Regions from separate parts of the Homo sapiens genome. Here region 2 is linked to region 1. Evidence: promoter capture Hi-C in 16 types of primary human blood cells and fetal thymus (Javierre and others, 2016). All regions are on one chromosome and are shown on one strand. The core of a region is centred on a gene start or on the middle of the fragment in contact, and the rest is flanking DNA. Distances in the headings are between cores, read along the strand shown. Region 1 holds the start of BDKRB1-AS1 (BDKRB1 antisense RNA 1). Region 2 overlaps GLRX5 (glutaredoxin 5).

Evidence for each region. Contacts are between HindIII fragments. The CHiCAGO score rates a contact against its expected background, and 5 or more counts as called.
Region 2: a fragment that was not itself captured here is called in contact with the fragment with the promoter of BDKRB1-AS1 in region 1 in 1 of 17 cell types (endothelial precursors); the score reaches 5.8 in endothelial precursors.

The regions. Positions count from the first base shown.
Region 1 is chr14:96,265,332-96,272,329 of GRCh38, reverse strand. It overlaps BDKRB1-AS1 (BDKRB1 antisense RNA 1), which reads left to right and starts at 3,750. Exons shown (of 2, transcript XR_007064322.1): 1 at 3,750-3,961. RefSeq lists an enhancer at 2,476-3,675. The HindIII fragment of the contact is 7,907 bases long and covers 1-6,705 here.
Region 2 is chr14:95,544,622-95,551,619 of GRCh38, reverse strand. It overlaps GLRX5 (glutaredoxin 5), which reads right to left. Exons shown (of 2, transcript NM_016417.3): 2 at 6,906-6,998. Among named protein-coding and RNA genes, the nearest start is that of GLRX5, 13 kb to the right of the region's middle. RefSeq lists an enhancer at 2,962-3,837 and a cis regulatory region at 5,511-5,801. The HindIII fragment of the contact is 930 bases long and covers 3,596-4,525 here.

The DNA.
Region 1 (6,998 bases), core at 2,501-5,000:
GCTTTTTCACATCCTGTGAACTCACTGAAGGTGGGATTTTATATTTTACTTTTACAATTTTACTTTTACATGCCATGTATTGGTCACTCAGTAAGTGTTGGACACACAAAGCCATGAATGAAGAAGCTGCTCTGATTCTGTCTTAGATTGTGGAGGTCAGGACTGGAGTACTCCCTAGTCTGCCATAATTTCACCTAACCCATCAGTGGGGTTTTTTTTTTGGTTTTTTTTTTTAAGATGGAGTCTCATTCTGTCACCCAGGCTGGAGGGCAGTGGTGCAATCTCGGCTCACTGCAACCTCCATCTCCCAGGTTCAAGCCATTCTCCTGCCTCAGCCTCCCGAGTAGCTGGGACTACAGGCATGCACCACCATGACCAGCTAATTTTTGTATTTTTAGTAGAGATGGGGTTTTACCATGTTGACCAGGCTGGTTTTGAACTCCTGACGTCCTTGGCCTCCCAAAGTGCTGGGATTACAGGTGTGAGCCACCACTCTCGGCCCCATCAGTGGGTTTTAATTCCATCTGATGTTGGCCTTGTGCTTGCTGCAGCCTCCTGCCCATTCTCCAGAAGCAGAGTGATAGCTGCCTGGCTGTTGATCACAGATTCATGAGTAAGCCCAGCCAAGACCAGTAGAAGAACCACCCGGCTAAACCCAGCCCAAATGGCCAATTACAGAATTATGAGTTGAGGTGGTTGTTTTAAACCACTAAGTGTGGGAGTGGTTTTTTATGCAACATAGATAACTGATACACTGTGCAAGCCATCATCCATATTCTAGTGAAAGTGATCTCTCTGAAATGCAGTTCCAAACATGCCACTTCCTTGTTCAGTCTTCACTGACTCACATGGCCCAGAGGACAACAGTCACTCCTTGGGATTGGCATACATCTTCCAGCCCTTGATTTTGTTGGCTGAGAACTCGCGTGAGGGAAAAGTTGCAGGTGGCCAACACTCTCATTGTCCTACTTAACTTTAAGATCCAGCTCAAGGAACCCCCTTTCCTTCTGGAACTCCTTGCAGCAGACTTCGTCACCCCATGACGAGACATCTCACACTGAGGAATGATCTCTTTTCTTTTCTGCCTCCCTTACATGCAGTGAGCTCCTCAAGGGTGAGTGTGCAGTAGATGCTTCCTGGATTCTTGTTGCAGCCTCCTGCCAAGAGATCCTGCAGCTTCGCTGGGCTCCTCCAGAGACCAGGAACCCACGTCATTGAGGGCCATCAGTTCTATCATGGGACAGCTCTGCCTGTCAAAGAGCCCATCCTTAAATTAAGACAGAAAGTGTTTCTCAGGATTTTTTTCTCTTTGGTCCCTTTGGGGTAACACTAAGTGCATTTGTTCCTCTCTCCACATAAGTCTTATCTTCTGTGGTAAGCCCTCTGCCGCCATGTGTCTGGAGGGTGTGCTGTTGCATCCTCTCACCAGTCTGATCCCTGTCTTTGGAATCAGCCAAGAGCTGGACACAATACTCCTAATGGACCCTGTCCAGTGCTAAATTAAGGGAATATGACCTTCCTCATTTTAGAGGCTATACTCCTTTGAATGCAGCTGAGAGCTGGCAGCTATTTTGGCAGCTACAGTACACTGAGCCCCTTGTTGACTGAAGCCCTGAAATGTCTTCCTCTCGTACTTGCTGGGTCCCAACCAATCCTTCCTGATAGTTTTCTGTCCCCTGAAGCTCCTGAAAAGTAGGCTTGGCTTCCTGTTTACTGCCTTAAACACAATCCTGGCCATAGGGAGTCTCTGCAATCATCATGGCCACTCAAATGAGAACCCTGGCACTCAGGCCTCTTCTCTGACCTCAGCCTGAGACTGAGACCTGTCACCAGGGCCCAGCGGGCATCTTGGGTCTGAACAGAGCCCTTCAGCAGGAGCCCTGCTTACTCGGTGACCTTGGACAAGTCTGCTTGTCTCTGGACCTTGGTTTCTTCATCTGTAAGGCAGAGTGGTTGAACTTAATGATGCATTCTTTTTAAGGTTTTTAGTAGATTTGCATACAGTGATAAGAAAGATGCCTTGTACTCATTCTTTTTTTTTTTTTTTTTCTGAGACAGGGTCTCACTTTATTGCCCAGGCTGGAGTGCAATGGCACAATCATGGCTCACTGCAGCCTTGAACCCTGGGCTCTACTGATTTTCCCACCACATTCTCCCAAGTACCTGATACTACAGGTGTGCACCCCCATGCCTGGCTAATTTTTGTATTTTTACTAGAGACAGGGTTTCACCATGTTGCCTGGGCTGGTCTTTGAACTCCTGGGCTCATGTGATCTGCCTGTCTCGGCCTCCCAAAGTGCTGGGATTATAGGCATGAGCACTGTGCCCGGCCCCATTATTCTTTACTCAGTTTCCCCCAATAGTAACATCTTACACAAGGATCGTGCCATATCACAACCAGGAGAGTGACACGGACACCATTTTTGGGATTTTATTCAGACTGTGCTTTGACATGCATTCATTTCAGTCATAGTTAAAGCCTCTTCTGCTCATAGGAGAAAATGGTTGTTGGTGCTTGCTGGGGTGGCGCTGTCCTGGTGTCTCACATACATCTCTGACCTTCCTCTTGTCCTTTCTCGCCTTTCCTTCCCTTTCTTTGCCCATTACCTCTTTCCAAAAAGGGAATAAGGCCGTCCTTTTGGGTCACTTAATTTTCACAACGACACAGTGAGGCACTGCTCTCCTCATTCCCATTTTACAGATGGGATGCCGAGTTTCGGTGGTCGGCCAGGCCCATGCGGTGGTGGAGTGAGGACTGGAACAGTGGCATGTGTGACTCAGAGACCTGGACCTCTGACCGGCTGCACTGTGCACTCTGCAGCCCCGCGGTGAGGCCCTTCTTGGGCAGGGGCCTGAGCTGGGGGTGGTCCGGGGAGGCAAGAGGATGCTGAGAAGGAATCAAGGGGGTCTGGAGAAAGGGGCTGGGCACAGGGAAAGAGAAGGGCAGGAAGGAGCTGAAGGTGCACAGAGGCCAGAGCGGAGCTCAGCCGGAGCCAAGGCTTGGATCAGCCCTGGTTGGATGCCCAGGCTCCTCGGAGCTGTGGTGGGAGCAGGGGTGGGGAGGAACACTTTCCAGGGCTGCTTCCGACCTGCTCCTCATCAAATTTGTGACTCATCTCCGGAGAGCAAGAGCCTGCCTGTGGCCATTGCAACATCAGGGAGTTTCCCCGAGGCTGGGATTTGGAGGGCCTTAGTGCCACCCACTCCCCATGATGGATTGGGGTGATGATGGGGCAGGGTGGGGGCAGTTTTCTTACCTTCCCACTGCAGAGAGCAGTGAAGGCCACATATGGCCCCTGATCACGCGGTTCTGGAGCCCAGGACAGACCCAGAGCTGGGAACGGATTGGAGTGAAACCTTGTTCTCTCTTTCTACTTGGCCCTTCTCAGGGAGAGAGTGGAAGCCCACATGGGTGCTGGAGCTGGGGATGCTGGAAGACTATTTGCTAATTCCTCCCTCCACCCCAGGTGTTAGCACCACAGGTGTGGCCTGGGCCTGGCCCCATATGGAACACGCCAGGTGAACCTATCAACCAGATCCATGGGAACTCAGATATATTACCTTTTCCCACAGCATCGATCCTTTTAGTCAAGGCAGAAATTTCTCCCTCTGTAAATGAATAACTGGCCTTCCCCACAGAAGGGCAACAGAATTCTACTGTACGGGTTTGCCAGTTTCTCTCCCACTGTGGGGCCATTTGCTGGGCTTCGGTAAACGTTACTTATGTGCGTCTCATAAATCAGGTGTCTGAGTTCTCAGGCTGTGGCTGCAGTCTACCATTGAATTACATCCCGTGAGCAATGTTGTCCGATTTCACCGGCCAGCACGTTCTTCTCGAGTGTGGGATTGGTTTTTGCAAGACCTCGAAAGGATTTTGATAAGCCACCTGCTTAAGGCCGGCTGAAAAAGAAGAAAGGAGGGCATATGTGGGTCAGCTCACTCGGAATAGAAGAGGAATCAGGTATTATTTTCCCTTTCCCACTCTCTATTCCTGCCTGTTCCTGCCTACTTTTGCCACTTTGCCACAGAGCCTTTGCCCAATGAATTCCTGCCTGGGGGCTTGGAAATCACATTGGTGTTGGAGTCAGATGAGTTGGGTGAATCCAGCCTCTGCAGTCTGAGCAGGCACTGCCTTCCTTAGCCTCCTCTTCCTCACCTAGAAAGTGGACATCCTGAAACAGACCTCACAAGGGAGTCAGGCGATTAAATGAGATGACTGAGCCTACTCCTGTGTGTGGCTGCTGAGTCGCACTGGGTGTGCTTGGGCAGGTCTTACTGCTCTCTGTTTCCTAGACTGTATGTGAAGGGATGGTCTGGATGAGGGGTTGCAAACTTAACCTCCCATAGCTTCCATGCGTGTGAACCTGATGGGAGGGCGCCCTGTTCACGGGGCCTCTGCTACACAGCACCAAAGAATTGGAGCCCCGGGGGGACCCTGGAAGGTCAACTCCAAGGGCCCAGGGATGTTCCTCTCTTTTGTTCACTGCCATATTTTCAGTGCCCAAAACAGTGTCTGACAAAGTAGATGCTTAATAAATATCTGCTGAATGAATGAAATTGAATCAGTGTTGCTGGATGTTCCAAACTTTCAAAAGAAACTGGAAAGCTGGCTCCCAATGGGGAGTTTCAGTACTGGTAACCAACTCAAGAGCCTGGGGGCTTGGAGTTTTAAAAAATACCATGTGGTTCAAATTAAACACATGTGCAGGCTGGATCTTGCCTGTTGGCTCAGCTCCAGGCCTTCTGACGACACTCTGCTCTCCAGGAAACCTGCAGGGGCTGGAACACTGATCACAGGGTTATCACTGATGAGGTCCTGGTGGCCCAGCCGCTGCCAGCCTCTCAAACCCTGTCTCCAGGCTCCAAGAACATGGCATTCTTTCCATTCCTGGAATGAATGAGTCTTTGCTGCTATTCTGTGAGGACCAGCCCTTCCCGTGCAGCTGTGGGGACTGCCATTCTCCCCATTCCCCCAAGTGTCTTGGAGTCCAGTCACTACACCCTCTCCCCCACTCCATGGAAACTGACCTTGGAATGGCCTCCTGGCCCACGGACTCTCTCCTCCCCAGGGCCTGACAATGTCCCGCCTGCCTGTGAGGGCCCAGGTAGGGCCCACCCACCACCTGACCTCTCCATTCTCTATGTTGTCTCCAACCTCCTTCTTCTTCCCTCTACTTCAGCCACCTGGTGCCAGGGATACACTTGGTCCTTGTCATCTCCTGAGATGGCTCTGCCTCTGGAATGTTCTACTCAAACATTCCTGCTCTGTGGCTATGCCTTCCTCTCTCTCTTTTAATGAGACAGGGTCTCACTCTGTCAGCCAGGCTGGAATGCAGTGGCACAATCTTGGCTCACTGCTTGTAGCCCTGACCTCCTGGGCTCAGATGATCCTCTTGCCTCAGCCTCCCAAGTAGCTGGGACTACAGGTGCGCACTACCACGCCTGGATAATTTTTGTATTTTTTGTAGAGACGGGGTCTTGCTATGTTGCCCAGGCTGGTCTCAAACTCCCGGGCTCAAGCCATCCACCTGTCTCAGCCTCCCAAAGTGCTGGGATTACAGATTGCACCCTTTGTGGAAACCAGGCTCACGGCTGATTCCCTTCACAGTGTACAGAAGATCACGCCTGGCTCTTCTTCTGTTTCTTGCTGTCACCCAGGTTCTCTCACTATATCCATCCTTTAACACACTGATCTCACTTCACTTCCTTCTCTCCCTGTGCTCGTTTCTTCCCTCTCCATCATTCCCCCGAGTCTGACCAGGATCCCCAACTCCCATGACGTATGGCCGTCTATCTGGCTAAACCCTACTCCAGAGCAATCCTTTCCTGGGTCTGTCGAGCATTATCAGAGTAAATTCACACAACACAGCCACGCTTTCCAGCTTCAATGGGGCCCTCAAAGCTGCCTGGAGCCCACCATCCTTCCTGGGTGAACTGTCTTTGCCAGCTGACCATGGTGGACCCAGCCTGTCCATTCTCCTCCAGCCCCAATTCTCTCCATGACCCGCCTCCTCCTCTGCCATCCTTCAACCTCTCCCTCCTAACCTGTAACCCCACCTGCCTCTGGGCCTACTTTGTTCCTTCTGTCTGGAACACTCCTTTCCCCCATTTTGCTTGGCCAGCTTCTCATTTTTTGGGATTCAGTTTATGTGTCTCTTCCTCCAGGAACCCCTCTCTAACCATCCCTCCCAGCCACCCAGACTGGAGCCCTGCTCTGGTTCTCACGGCACCCCTCACCCTGATGGTGGCGGGCATCCTGCTCTATGACAATCCCTTAATTATTGTCCTGGTTGCTGTGAGCCCCTGGAGGGTAGAGACACCGTTAGGCTCACCGTTGGGTCTCTCATAGCAAGACCCGCACCAATGCATTACACGTTCAATAAGAGCATGCACAAGCATTCTTTTGTGAGCAGCTCACCCTTTCCCGCCTCTGCCAGCCCTTCCTCCCTGTCTCCACGTATCCAGATTGCACCCTTTGTGGAAACCAGGCTCACGGCTGACTCCCTTCACAGCGTCTTCTCTGCTAACCTGAGAGGGAACCCATCCCCTTTCTCGCTGAAGGCGCAAGATGCTGGATCCGTGGTGTGTTCATGCAATTTCTCATTTCATTTTTTATATTATAATATTTAGATGTATGTAAGTTCCTTGAATATAGAACTTCTAGCTATACCATCCCTGTATTCCTGGCAGTTAGCCTAGAAAGCTTTGAATAGACAAATGGAAGTGTAATAAGAGAGGCCATTACCCGATACTTGTTATTTGTTTCCTGCTGCTGCTATGACAAATTACCAGAAACTCGGTGGCTTAAAATACAAATGGGGCCAGGCGCAGTGGCCACGCCTATAATCCTAGCACTATGGGAGACCAAAGTGGAGGATCACTTGAGCCCTTGAGTTTGAGACCAGCCTAGGCAATGCAGGAAGACACCATCTCTACAAAAAATAGAAAAGTTAGCCAGGCATGGTGGTGCACACCTGTAGTCTCAGCTACAGGAGGCT
Region 2 (6,998 bases), core at 2,811-5,310, 720 kb after region 1:
TGAGTTATCTGATGCTTCTGTTGAAAAACTTTATTGACAGGTATTTGGCAGATGCCTGTGCACTGTATAAAAATCCAATACAAAATAATCAAATAGAAAATAAACAACTAAAAAAAGGCAATTTTTAATAAATGGAGATAAAAGTTAAAAAAAGGAATACAGCATTTGCTTATTTATATATATTTATTTCACTAACATATATATTGTCAATAATAATGTAAAGACTGATGATTGCGCTAATTGTATAGGGAACAGTGAGAAGTAGGGTAGATTGATGATTATATGAGAGCATTCTTATCTATCAAAATGGCAAAGAGATTAGATAATATCTGATTTATTAGCAAAGAAATAGCAATATAAGCACATTAAAAAATATTGGCTAGGTGCAGTGGCTCACGCCTGTAATCCCAGCATTTTGGGGTCCACCCAGCAGGTGGGTGGATCTCTTGAGCCTAGGAGTTTGAGGCTAGCCTGGCAACACAGTGAGACCCCATCTCTTCTAAAAATACAAAAAATTAGCTGAGCGTAGTGGCACACACATGTATTCCCAGCTACTTGAGAGGCTGAGGTGGGAGAATCGCCTGAGCCTGGGAAGTCGAGGTTACAGTGAATCGTGATTGCACCACTGCACTCCAGCCTGGGCAACAGAGTGAGACCCTGTCTCAAAAAACAAAACAAAACAAAAAAAGAAAGGAAGAGAAAGGAAAATGAAATATGGAGGGAAACAGAAGAAACTGCTTAAGAAATGGAAATTTGTTTCCTATAGAGAGCAGGACCCATGGATCAAAAGGCAGGAGAGTGCTGTTTTTCATTATTACTGTAGTTTTTAAAGTATCATTTGACTAATTATATGCATGCATTGTTTTATTAAAAACGAGGTTAAAATTTCAAATGAATGGGATACTAAAAGCTTATACCCTATTTGACCATGTTTCTGATAACCGCAGGTAACAAAAGGACAACTGTGACCAAGGAAAAGGCTGGGGGGTGGCGGGCAGACAGAGGAAGGTGGGGGCAGCAGCAAGGGCTAGCAGAGGGACACTGCCAGGAAGTGAGAACTTGGGGCAACAGGTGGCCCTGAGTATGGGTAGAAATATCTGACCCCACCCAGGGCTGTGACCGAGGTCGGACGGAAGTGCAGGGAAAGACCAGCAGACCGCGGGAACTCGCTCGTAAAGCACTTTGTTTACTTCCTGCTGTCTGGAATTTCAGAGTGAAGTCCAGTGGGACCTCTGGCCTGGCCACCTGTCCGCACAACACACGGGGCCCAGGAGGCTTTCCCTGGCATCATTTGCAAGGAGGCATCATTTGCATTCACCTTCCATTTGTCTGACCTCAGAGGTGGGACCCTCTGCTTCCTTCACATACTTGATAGTGGATGGCCAGGGGCAACTTCCAAAATTCCTGGCCTCCCTGGCTCTTTCAACAGGCAACTGAAGCTCAAATTCAGTTCTTCTCAGGGCTGCAGGGCGAACACTCTGGACACCACAGCCAGAGCTGCACTAAGCGGCTGCACTCACTGAGCCGGCCCTCCGAAGGGTGCTACAATATGGATCTGATCACAGCTCAAATTCCACCAGGTAGTGACCTTGGACAAGTAACCTGACCCCCTCCCAGTCTCTGTGTCATCATCTGAAAGGAAGAGAGAATATCCCACATTTGCAGATCTTTGGTGAGAAACAAATTACGGATCTAAATGCTCAATAATTGTTTGACCCTTCCCCCTGTCTGCTTATACCAAGTAAGCATCCACCATAAAATCCAGGCAGCCAGGTGTATTAGTCTCCTTTTGCCGCTGTAACAAATGACAAGCTTAGTGGCTTAACACCAATTTTTAATCTTACAGGGCAGGAGGTCAGAAGTCTAAAATGACTTTCACTGGGCTAAAATCATGGCCTGTGTTCTTTCTGGAGACTCCAGGGGAGAATCCGTTTCCTTGGCTTTTCCAGCTCTAGAGACTGCCTGCGATCTTTGGCCTGTGGCCCCTTCCGCCCTCTTCAGAGTACATCACTCCAACCTCTGCTTCCCTCCTGCCCAGGACACCTGTGATTACATTAAGCCCACCCAGGTGATCCAAGACAATCTCTCTATCTCAAGATCCTGAACTTAAACACAGCTTAAACTTACCCCAGGTAACACAGTCACACATTCCAGGGATTAGGACATGGACATCCCACCACACTTTGTACGAAGTGCACCTGAACTGAAGTAACTTAGTCAGGTGTAACTGACACTGCCCCTTGCCCTCTGCTCTCCCAAGAATCATTTTAAGGAGACTTTACTAAGGAATCATGGAAAAAAGTTAAAAAACAACTTAAAGGCCAGGCGCGGTGGCTCATGCCTGTAATCCCAGGGCTTTGGGAGGCCCAGGCGGGTGGATCACGAGGTCAGGAGTTTGAGACCAGCCTAGCCAACATGGTGAAACCCCGTCTCTACTAAAAATACAAAAAATTAGCTGGGCATGGTGGCAGGTGCCTGTAATCCCAGCTACTCAGGAGGCTGAGGCAGGAGAATAGCTTGAACTCAGGAGGCAGAGGCTGCAGTGAGCCGAGACCGCGCCATTGCACTCCAGCCTGGGTAACAGAGAGAGACTCCATCTCAAAAACAAACAAAAAACAAAAGAATTTAAGAAGCCAGAATAACAGGAAGTGTGCTGCTAGTTTCCCAGGATTACAATTTACTTGTAAATGTACTGAAGAACTCTGAAGTTCTCCTTGAGATTTGAAATATTTTAATACCTATGTCAGACTCTGACAGCACCCTAACGCCCCCAAGATCAGGGCAAGGGGTGAGGGGTATCTGACACCCAGCTGAAGTCTCAGCCTCTGCCCAGCCTGGGTCTGGAGCCAGAAGAGGTCCCCATAGACTCGGGCTCAGCATGGCCTCCCCAGGAAGGTTGCTTCATCGGTGGTGGTGATGATCAAAGCTGATAGCTTGCTCAGGACTAGTGAAGACACATCAATAATCTGGAAATACTTTCCATATTTGCTCACCAAATTTCCTAGGAACCGGCGAACATTTCTACCTCCTTTTTCTGGCAAAACGAATCCCTGTGAAAATGGCTAATGAGGTACAGTAGAACCCAGTGTCACAATCCTTGCTACTGCTAAATTAGAATTAGCTCAAGGTTAAACTGCATTCTTTGAAGCATAACTCAACACAATAACTGTCTAACATATCGGTTCAGAAAAGACTCTCCACTTTGGTATGAAATAGAAGCAGTATTTTTAAAAATAAAACTCGGTGGCAGTAAGTCAAACTATAATCGTAGGAAAGATACTTTACAGGGAATTCTTTCTGGCTGAAGGCCCTGCCGTCCCCTAGGGCTGCTGGGCAGTCCACTGATAGATCATCACAAGGATTAGATCTGTCCTTTGCCTTCAACAATGAGTCTCTATGTTCCAGGGGCAACCAAACATGAACGATGTTGTGTTCATCAGCCTGTCCTTCTCTGCTCCCTTAAACCCTCCGAACGGTGGTGGATACCACAGCGCGGTACCAAGTCCAGGTGTAATCCAACATTAACTGTCAAGGTCAACTTACAGTGAGAGCTCATTATGAGCCATGGTCTCGACAGGGTGCTGTCATCTAAGCTTGTAACACGCCTGAGGTCGGTGGCATCTGCTATTTGCCCACTTAAGCAGGAAGGGAGGTTACTAAGTCGTCTGAGGTCAGTAGCACACCCAGCAAGTGCTGGGATGCAAACCCAGGGAGGGTGACTTGAGTCCCGGCTCTTAGCTACTGCGGTGTTGCGAGGCTGTAACCTGTAATAGCCTAACATTTCTTGTGACTAATCCAAAAGGAATGAAGAAAGGAAATTCTTCACTCTTTTCTAAATGTATTTTTTGGGGCACTCTGTATGCTGGCCAGAGGGGATCTGAATAAAGCCAAGTAACAGGCAGTTAGGTCCTGGAGTGATGAACAAAGAACAGGGCTGTAGAGTGGATTAAAGGGTCTGTTCCGTCTGGGGTCAGGGAAGGCTTTCTGGGATAGGAGAGACTTCACTGTGACACAACCGGGTGCCCCGGGAGGTTCACAAGGAGGAGAATAACATGGCTATTCTGACTGAATCCAGGATAGGGATCTTTGAGGTGAGGTGCACCTTCAGTGGCATCTCTGCCCTAAGGGAGACTCTGCCCTCAGCTCACCTGCACTGGGCTCCCAGGGCAACCGCCAAGAAAACAATGCTCCCCTCACGCAAAATGCCCACATAGCTTTCAGACCTAAAGTGATGCTACTCTCAGGAAATAAGACAGGAATGTGGCTTTACAAGAGTCCACCTGGTCACCCCATGCGTCTCTGTAAGCCCCTGGACCTTAAAATGGCTTTTCTCTTCACCATTCCTCTGCTCTGCTTCATAGTAGCTATTATATGGTTCTTAGGCACAATTTAAAGCTGCTTTTTAGATTTACTAAACAATTCTTAAGTGGAATGTTAAATTTTTAAAACAATCAGTGTTTTGTGTGGCCATCCCCTAATATATATCTTTTCCTGTCGGTGGCTCTCAGGAACCCACATGAAAGCTTTCTCACCTCACATTTAAATTTGTTTCTGCTGGGCGCAGTGGCTCATGCCTGTAATCTTAACACTTTGGGAGGCCAGAGTGGGAGGATCGCTTGAGCCAGGAGTTCAAGACCAGCTTGGGCAACACAGAGACCCTGTCTCTAAAAAATAAAAAAATTAGCCAGGTGTTGTGGTGCACATCTGAAGTCTCAGCTATTCAGGAGGCTGAGTGGGAAGGATTGCTTAAGCCCAGGAGGTCAAGGCTGCAGTGAGCCATAATCAGGCCACTGCACGCCAGCATGGGCAACAGAGCAAGACCCTTTTTCAATCAATCAATCAATCAATCAATCAATCAATCTGCACCAATGAAACCTTGCCGACACAAGTCATTCCTCTACCCTTAGCACAGTCCCTCCTGTCACAAACAAGGGACCTGATTTCTCAAAATATAATTTATGTCAAAATATCTAAGTAAACCTAACAAATGTAACAAGAATTCTCTCTTAAGCTGGCTGCTATGGCTTGAAAAGTTAAAGGAAAGCTTCGGTTCCCAGATTCTACACAAGTGAATTAAACACTGCCAACAAAACGAAACCCAACTTAAAAGTTATCTTCTGTCCTAAGATATCTCTAAAACTCATAGCTTAATGAAGCAGAATGCCATTTATGTAACTACCAATCCATGAAAAAAATAAAAACTACCTGAAATCATAAAATGTTTAATCTTCTAAAATAACTTGATTTCTAAGGGTCTAATCACACAGACCCTGAAGCTATGACAAATATCCAATATAATCACACTAATACAGGCCTAATGTATTTTAAATAGGTGCATTTAAACCCGAGAAGCAGTCCTTGCATTTTAAATAGGTGCGTGATACTGCTGTTTGCACAAGGAACCTCTGTGTCTCTGCTCTAATTCTCACAGTGAATTCTAATTATGCAGACCATCAAAATTATTCAGACTTACACTAGATAGCATCTTCAATTTTCTACTTGGTAGAGATTTGTTAGGCATATAGAAAAAAATTATTAATTAACTCTGAGAAAGAAGACTTACATTCCTCGTAGAGCCCAGTGATTCCTTCAACTTATAAGTTCCCTAGTGACTTTGATATGATCTCACTATGACTCATAAGCATGAGTCAAATTATTCACTTGGCAGCCTTTTCCTAGCTCCAATCATATTCTAGAGAGGTTTCTTACATTGATGCTTCCCATCAATAAGTTTCTCATCATTTCGCTTTTCAGATGAAACCTAAGGGCACACAGGCAGATTCAAGGAAAAGCCAAAAGAAGCAAAATTGTGAAAACGTATCACACTCCTCACTAGATGTGATGGCAAGGGACAATTTTGCAGACCCGGCCTCTGGTCCACGGCCTGTATCCATCCAGAGGCAGTATGAAGTGACTTATTCATGGTGACTCTGTCTACAGGGCAAGGTAGATCCTTCTAGTGCTCCTGCTTCCCTCATTTCTAAACCAAATGGCTCAAATGGATGTGTTTTAACCTCCTCTTAGATCCTAAGGTCCCTTAGCTTACAGAAGACATAAAGGTATCATGGGATGTAGCAGACAATTAATGTAATAACCTTTTTCTGAGAATAATCTATTTTTCTTTTCTCTAACACGGTGAGGTGGGTGACTGCTGAGGAGCAGTGCTCTAATCTGATGGGGCAGTCCCCAGGGTGGGGGCGTGGGGCTACAGCTTTCCTTCCCCTTCCAAAACCTCTGGGGAAGGGGAGCAGGGGCAACTCCATCAGTTCTAGCCTGACCTCATGGAGGAAGTCTGTTTTTAGAGTATTCTCGAGAGGAACTCAAGGAGATTAAATAAGCAACGAAGAACAAGCCTCTAGAATAGCTCTGGGGAAAAGAGCCGTTCTGTCCTTTTTGCCCTTATTATGAGAAAATGCATCCTTCTTCCCACCTCTGCCACCGTAAAGATATGTTTCTAGACAAGCGCTCTCTTTAAGTCCCTGGAGATGAACAAAGCCTCCATGCCACACCAGGCGGGCTTCCTTCCCATGGGCCTCTGCACAGCCCCAGGCTCTACCAGGCCCCAGTCTCGGGATGCAGAACTCATGGAAAGGTCTTATAAAGACACCAGACACTGGGAGAATCTCTGCCACAATTCCAAATTATGTCCTCTTTTAGAAAGTCCCCACTTTTTAAGAAGTAAAATACTCATTAAATCCCCTAGCTCGGTGGACTGTTGACGATGTCTCCCTATCTAACTGTAGCAGTGTGCCAAGCACAGGGCTCCAGAGATAGGCAGGTGGGGCCGCCTCCTCCGGCCTCACCCACCTCTGCTCCCTCCAGCCCACCCACGCCTCCAGCTGCACAGTTGACTCACCATCCAAACAGCTGCTTCCCCCAGAAAGTAGACCAGGGCTCGACGGCAATTCTTGTGGCAAATTTAATAGAAGAATATGAGACTCACCCTTACTTCCCACACATAAAACACTGCAGGCACTCCAAATCCTTACAGACATATG